2 separate regions of the Homo sapiens genome follow, and region 2 is linked to region 1. Evidence: promoter capture Hi-C in human tissues and cell types (Jung and others, 2019). All regions are on one chromosome and are shown on one strand. Each heading gives the region's core, a stretch centred on a gene start or on the middle of the fragment in contact. The rest is flanking DNA. Distances are from core to core; before and after follow the strand shown. Region 1 holds the start of RILPL1 (Rab interacting lysosomal protein like 1). Region 2 overlaps RILPL2 (Rab interacting lysosomal protein like 2).

Evidence for each region. Contacts are between HindIII fragments. The study calls those that stand out against the background at their distance.
Region 2: a contact is called between a fragment that was not itself captured here and the fragment with the promoter of RILPL1 in region 1, in 3 of the 25 tissues and cell types used here (dorsolateral prefrontal cortex, small bowel and thymus).

The regions. Positions count from the first base shown.
Region 1 is chr12:123,532,394-123,535,521 of GRCh38, reverse strand. It overlaps RILPL1 (Rab interacting lysosomal protein like 1), which reads left to right and starts at 1,803. Exons shown (of 7, transcript NM_178314.5): 1 at 1,803-2,348. The coding sequence starts at 2,040. RefSeq lists silencers at 875-1,060, 1,080-1,769 and an enhancer at 1,985-2,802. The HindIII fragment of the contact is 25,082 bases long and covers 1-3,128 here.
Region 2 is chr12:123,413,267-123,416,861 of GRCh38, reverse strand. It overlaps RILPL2 (Rab interacting lysosomal protein like 2), which reads left to right. Exons shown (of 4, transcript NM_145058.3): 4 at 941-1,823. The coding sequence ends at 971. Among named protein-coding and RNA genes, the nearest start is that of RILPL2, 22 kb to the left of the region's middle. The HindIII fragment of the contact is 7,685 bases long and covers 1-3,595 here.

The DNA.
Region 1 (3,128 bases), core at 554-3,053:
ACGTCTGGCTAATTTTTTTATTTTACTTTTTTTTTTTTCTTTTTTTTTTTTGAGACGGAGTTTCGCTCTTGTTGCCCAAGCTGGAGTGCAGTGGCACGATCTTGGCTCACTGCAACCTCTGCCTCCCAGGCTCAAATGATTCTCGCGCCTCAGCCTCTTGAGTAGCTGGGATTACAGGCACATGCCACCATGTCTGGCTAATTTTTGTATTTTTAGTAGAGGCGTGGTTTCACCATGTTGGCCAGGCTGGTCTCGAACTCCTGAGCTCTAGAAATTTTCCCACCTCGGCCTCCCAAAGTGCTGGGATTACAGGCGTGAGCCACCCCGCCTGGCCTTAATTTTTTTTTTTTTACTATTTATTTATTTATTTATTGTATTATATTATTATTTTGAGATGGAGTCTTGCTCTGTCACCCAGCCTGCAGTGCAGTGGCGCGATTTCGGCTTGCTGCAACCTCCGCCTCCCGGGTTTAAGCAACTCTCTGCCTCAGCCTCCTGAGTAGCTGGGATTACAGGCATGCGCCACCATGCCCGGCTAATTTTTGTATTTTTAGTAGAGACGGGGTTTCACCACCTTGGCTAGGCTGGTCTTGAACTCCTGACCTCGTCCACCTCAGTCTCCCAAAGTGCTGGGATTACAGGCGTGAGCCACCGCGCCCGGCCAACTTTTAGATTTTTAATCAATACGTGCCACGTTGGGGTGCGCTTTATGGCTACAAGGGCATTAAGATTTCTTCCCTCAAGGAGCCAAGATCTGACGGTGGAAACCTACCTGCAACCACACGGTGAAAACTCAGGATGCTAAGAGCAATCCTGATGGGGCAAGCAGGGGACTGTGAGTTTGCAAGGGGGTCCTTAACTCCTGCGTGGGGGGCGGGGAGGGTGGATGGGGTTCTGGGTTCAGGAAACGTTCTCCCGGGAGTGGGAGGGGGTCTGATGGACAAGTGGATTTGGCCAGCCCAAATGGACAGGGGGCCTTGGGACAAGAGAACTCGTGGTGCTGGAATGCCAAGCGGGCTTCGCTCTACTGTGAAGTGGCGTTCATGTCACAAGGAGCCAGTGATGGATGTGGCTCGGGGAGGCGCGCCCTGGGGCTCCGGGGATCCAGCATTCCTCGACACGTCGGCCCCTCTCCGGGCGCCTCTGCAAGTCCGCCTGGTGGCCGGGTCTGCGCGGAGTGTCTGCGGGCCGGGGGGGGTCCCCGTTCTCTTCCTGGGATGAGCCCCAGCCCGGGGACCTCCTCGTGACCCCTCCATCCCTCTCCAAGGCCGGGGCCGCTACCCGGAGCAGCGAATCGTCCCGCGAGACCAGCGCCCCCGGCCCCCTCTCCCGGGGCGGCCTGGACCCCTCCCGGCGGCCGGGTGGTGGGAGGAGTCAGCGCCGGGCGGGGGAGGGGCGGCCGGGGCACGGGTGAGGGGCGCCGCGGGTCCGGCGGCTGGAGAGGGGGGCCCGGAGTGCAGGCCGCGGAGTCGGCGCTTGGGGGGGTACCCCGGGGCGCCCCCGGGCGGCGGAAAGCGGGCGCGCCCCTGGCCAGGCCGGGATTGGGGCGGGGCGCGCGGCCTCCCTGTGGGGAAGCGATCACCCGGCCTCGCAGCCGCCGCCGCCAAAGTTTCCCGGAGGAGCCGCGGGCCGCCCTTCCTCTCCGGCCCCGCGCTCTGCCGCCCCTCAGGCCCGCACCGCCCCGAGGCGCCCGGCCCGGCTCCATTGAGCGCAACTCGGATCCCAACTTGGGAGGCGCCGCGGGCCTGCGCACGCGCGCGCCCTCCCCGCTGCCGCCGCCGCCGCCGCCGCCGCCGCCGCCCACTCGGGAGCAGCTCCGGGCCGAGCCGGGCGCCCAGACCCCGGGCCCGCACACCCCGCGCCGCCGCCCGTGCCCGCGCCCGCGCCCGCCGCCCGCTGCCCGCTGCGCCCTCGCCCCAGCGCCCGCTGAGCGCGCCCGCCCGCGGCCCAGGCTGGGCCCGGCCGGCCCGGCCCTCGACAGCGGCAAGTTTGGGAGTTGCACGAGTTTGCGGGGCGGGGGACAGGCCAGGAGGGTGGCCATGGAGGAGGAGCGGGGGTCGGCGCTGGCGGCCGAGTCGGCGCTGGAGAAGAACGTGGCCGAGCTGACCGTCATGGACGTGTACGACATCGCGTCGCTTGTGGGCCACGAGTTCGAGCGGGTCATTGACCAGCACGGCTGCGAGGCCATCGCGCGCCTCATGCCCAAGGTCGTGCGCGTCCTGGAGATCCTGGAGGTGCTGGTCAGCCGCCACCACGTCGCGCCCGAGCTGGACGAGCTGCGCCTGGAGCTGGACCGCCTGCGCCTGGAGAGGATGGACCGCATCGAGAAGGAGCGCAAGCACCAGAAGGTGGGCGGCGGCCTCGGTCTGTCCGTCCGGGCAGTGGGACCGCGGGGACCCAAGGGCTCTTCCGCATTGGGCAGCTGTGGGTGCGCACGTGTGTGTGTTCAGGGACCGGACCAGAGGAGACCCGACGTGGGGAGGGAGGGAGGCCCTGGCCTTCTTTTGCCCGACCAGGGGTGGCTGGCAGATACCACCCGAGAGATTAAGAGCTGTTCTCTGGAGTTCCAATCCCACCTTTACCGTTTAATAGCTGTGTGACTTTAGGTAAGTTACTTAACCTCTCTGTGCTTTATTTCCTCACCTGTCAAATGGTAATCATAATAGGACCCACCTTAGAAGAATTAAATGGGACCATATAAGCTAAGTGCTTAGACATATTATTCTCTTCCAGACATGAAATAAGCCTCTTGGCCTCCCGAGTTACCAAGAAGATGTGACATCAGGCCCAGGACCCTTTCTTCATCCCCCCCCCCCCCAGTCTCCCCAGAGCAAAGGGAATGTGACCTCCAGCCACTGAGCTTCGTGACCCCTAGTCTTCGGGTTCATATTTGCAACTTTCTTCCCGGGACTCCCCTAGCTTATGAACCTGTGGTAGCCCGTGTTCTCTCCTCTGATTTTATCCTTAATCCTCACAGGACTCTATAGAGACTATCTTCATTTTACAGATAAAGAAACCGAGGGTCACAGTGGGAGGAGCAATTTGTCCCAAATTAGTGGTGAGAGAGTCCCAGCCCCCGTGTCTCCTCCCCACCCTGTTTGAATTGGGGGAAAGGGATGATTTGGGGT
Region 2 (3,595 bases), core at 642-3,141, 120 kb after region 1:
CTTTCAGCGTCCTTCTACGGGAGCTTAGGACACCTAATTGGAGTTTGAGCCTAATAGAGCAAAAGTGAAATGTGTGTTCTGTGCATGAGCTAGCCTGAGGACATGTGGCTAGTGGCTAATGAGCGTGAGGCCACCCTTTCAGGGTCAGATAAACTTAATGAGCTACTAGAATCAATGAGTGAATGAATGAACGAATGAATGTGTTTTTTTGTTTTTGTTTTTGAGACGGAGTCTCAATCTGTCACCCAGGCTGGAGTGCAGTGGCACCATCTTGGCTCACTGCAAGCTCCGCCTCCCGGGTTTATGCCATTCTCCTGCCTCAGCCTCCCGAGGCAGCTGGGACTACAGGCGCCCGCCACCACACCCGGCTAATTTTTTGTATTTTTAGTAGAGACGGGGTTTCACCGTGTGAGCCAGGATGGTCTCGATCTCCTGACCTCATGATCTGCCTGCCTCCGTCTCCCAAAGTGCTGGGATTACAGGCATGAGCCACCGCACCCGGGTTTTTTGGGGTTTTTTTGCTTTTTCTTTTTCTTTTGAGATAGTGTCTTGCTCTGTCGCCCAGGCTGGAGTGCAGTGGCGCAATCTCGGCTCACTGCAACCTCTGCGTCCCGGGTTCAAGCGATTCTCCTGCCTCAGCTTCCTGAGTAGCTGGGATTACAGGTGTATGCCACCACGCCTGGTTAATTTTTTTTTTTTTTTAGAGATGGGGTCTCACTATGCTGCCCAGGCATGTCTGAGACTCCTGGGATCAAGTGATCCTCATCCTCTTGCCTCAGCTTCCCAAAATCATAGGATTACAGGCGTGAGCCACAATGCCTGGCCTGGACATATTTTTGAGTCAACAGCTGCAAGAGCTACTTAGAAATTTTACGGGGGTTGCTGTGCCCCTTGCTTTGTTCCTTCTGCTTACCCTGAACCCTCTCTCTCTCCACACCAGGTTCTTTTTTCGATCGGGGAAACAGACCTAGATCCAAGGCCACAAGTAAGGCTATGGCTCTGATTCTAGAAGACAACCTTCCAAGATGCCTGGCAAAACCACCTCCCTGTGCCACACAGACACACTAGGCCTGTGTATTTATTTCCCCTTCAAAGCAGACTGAGGAGGGAGGAGACGAGGTTCTCTTGGCATCACTTTCTCCCTGGCTGCAGAACTAGACACCCTTGAAGATTTGGCCTGGGCCAGTGAGACTGAAATCAAGAAAAACAGAAGGGATGTGCAGGGTGGGGGGGTCCACTTCCTGCTCCCATGTCAACCCCCAGGGCCTCCAGCGTGCAGACGCGTGTCCTACTCATCTGCTCCCACGGATGACCCTGGTCTTCAATGGTTAGCAGAAGGGAGAAAAGAAAGCAGGAAAATGTGCTATTGAGATTCCAGTGGTGACTTCACTGATATTTAGTGAATATTTGATTTAGCCAACATGCCTTTCTTTATGTGATTTTGTATTAAAGTAAAATGATTTTTATACTTTCTATAGCTTATCTAGAGTGGTCTCTTAGTTACGATGGTACACATGGTATATGTGTGTATATGTCATATATCTACATTTCATTGTATAATGAATCAATTGCATTCATTCAGTCTAAGCGATGCACGATTATCTGGTGTCACTATGAAGGGAAAGATTGCTGCAAACTAAAATGTTAAGAAGCTATCGATTTTAGGACTCATCCTGATTTCAGAGGTGTTAAGATGTGAACAAAATGCATTTAGGAATCAATGAAACAGAGAGCGGGTGTCTGCACTTCGCAAAGGAACTAATGAGGCTGCCGCAACCATTCCGTGAGCCTGTCTTCTTAGTAAATAACAGTGGCTTACTCAATGTGTTTCGCCTGCTCTGTGGATTATCTCATTTGTTCCTCATAACCTGGGGAGATGGGGACCGGTACCGGTGCACCAGTTTATAGATTTTTTTTTTTTTTTTTTTTGAGACGGAGTCTCTCGCTCTGTCGCACAGTCTGGAGTGCAGTGGCACGATCTCGGCTCACTACAAGCTCTGCTGCCTACGTTCACGCCATTCTCTTGCCTCAGCCTCCTGAGTAGCTGGGACTACAGGCACTTGCCACCACACTCGTCTAATTTTTTTGTATTTTTAGTAGAGACAGGGTTTCGCCGTGTTAGCCAGGATGGTCTCGATCTCCTGACCTCGTGATCCACCCGCCTCAGCCTCCCAAAGTGCTGGTGAGAGGTGACAGCGTGCTGGCAGTCCTCACAGCCCTCGCTCGCTCTCGGCGCCTCCTCTGCCTGGGCTCCCACTTTGGCGGCACTTGAGGAGCCCTTCAGCCCACCGCTGCACTGTGGGAGCCCCTTTCTGGGCTGGCCAAGGCCGGAGCCCGCTCCCTCAGCTTGCAGGGAGGTGTGGAGGGAGAGGCGCGAGCGGGAACCGGGGCTGCGCGGGGCGCTTGCGGGCCAGCTGGAGTTCCGGGTGGGCGTGGGCTTGGTGGGCCCCGCACTCGGAGCAGCTGGCGGGCCCTGCCGGCTCCGGGCAATGAGGGGCTTAGCACCCGGGCCAGCGGCTGCTGAGGGTGTGCTGGGTCCCCCAGCAGTGCCAGCCCACCGGCGCTGCGCTCGATTTCTCGCCGGGCCTTAGCTGCCTTCCCGTGGGGCAGGGCTCGGGACCTGCAGCCCGCCATGCCTGAGCCTCCCACCCCCTCCGTGGGCTCCTGTGCGGCCCAAGCCTCCTCCACGAGCCCCACCCCCTGCTCCATGGTGTCCAGTCCCATCAACGACCCAAGGGTTGAGGAGTGCAGGCACAGGGCACGGGACTGGCAGGCAGCTCCATCTGCAGCCCCGGTGCGGGATCCACTGGGTGAAGCCAGCTGGGCTCCTGAGTCTGCTGGGGACGTGGAGAACCTTTGTGTCTAGCTCAGGGATTGTAAATACACCAATCGGCACTCTGTATCTAGCTCAAGGTTTGTGAACACACCAATCAGCACCCTGTGTCTAGCTCAGGGTTTGTGAATGCACCAATCGACATTCTGTATCTAGCTACTCTGGTGGGGCCTTGGAGAACCTTTGTGTCCACACTCTGTATCTAGCTAATCTGGTGGGGACGTGGAGAACCTTTGTGTCTAGATCAGGGATTGTAAACGCACCAATCAGCGCCCTGTCAAAACAGACCACTTGGCTCTACCAATCAGCAGGATGTGGGTGGGGCCAGATAAGAGAATAAAAGCAGGCTGCCCCAGGCAGCAGTGGCAACCCGCTCGGGTTCCTTTCCGCATTGTGGAAGCTTTGTTCTTTTGTTCTTTGCAATAAATCTTACTACTGCTTACTCTTTGGGTCCACACTGCTTTTATGAGCTGTAATACTCACCCCGAAGGTCTGCAGCTTCACTCCTGAAGCTAGGGAGACCAGGAGCCCACCAGGAGGAACGAGCAACTCCAGACGCGCCGCCTTAAGAGCTGTAACACTCACCACGAAGGTCTGCAGCTTCACTCCTGAGCCAGCGAGATCACGAACCCACCAGAAGGAAGAAACTCCGAACACATCTGAACATCAGAAGGAACAAACTCTGGACACGCCACCTTTAAGAACTGTAACACTCACCGCGAGGGTCCGCGGCTTCATTCTTGAAGTCAGTGAGACCAAGAA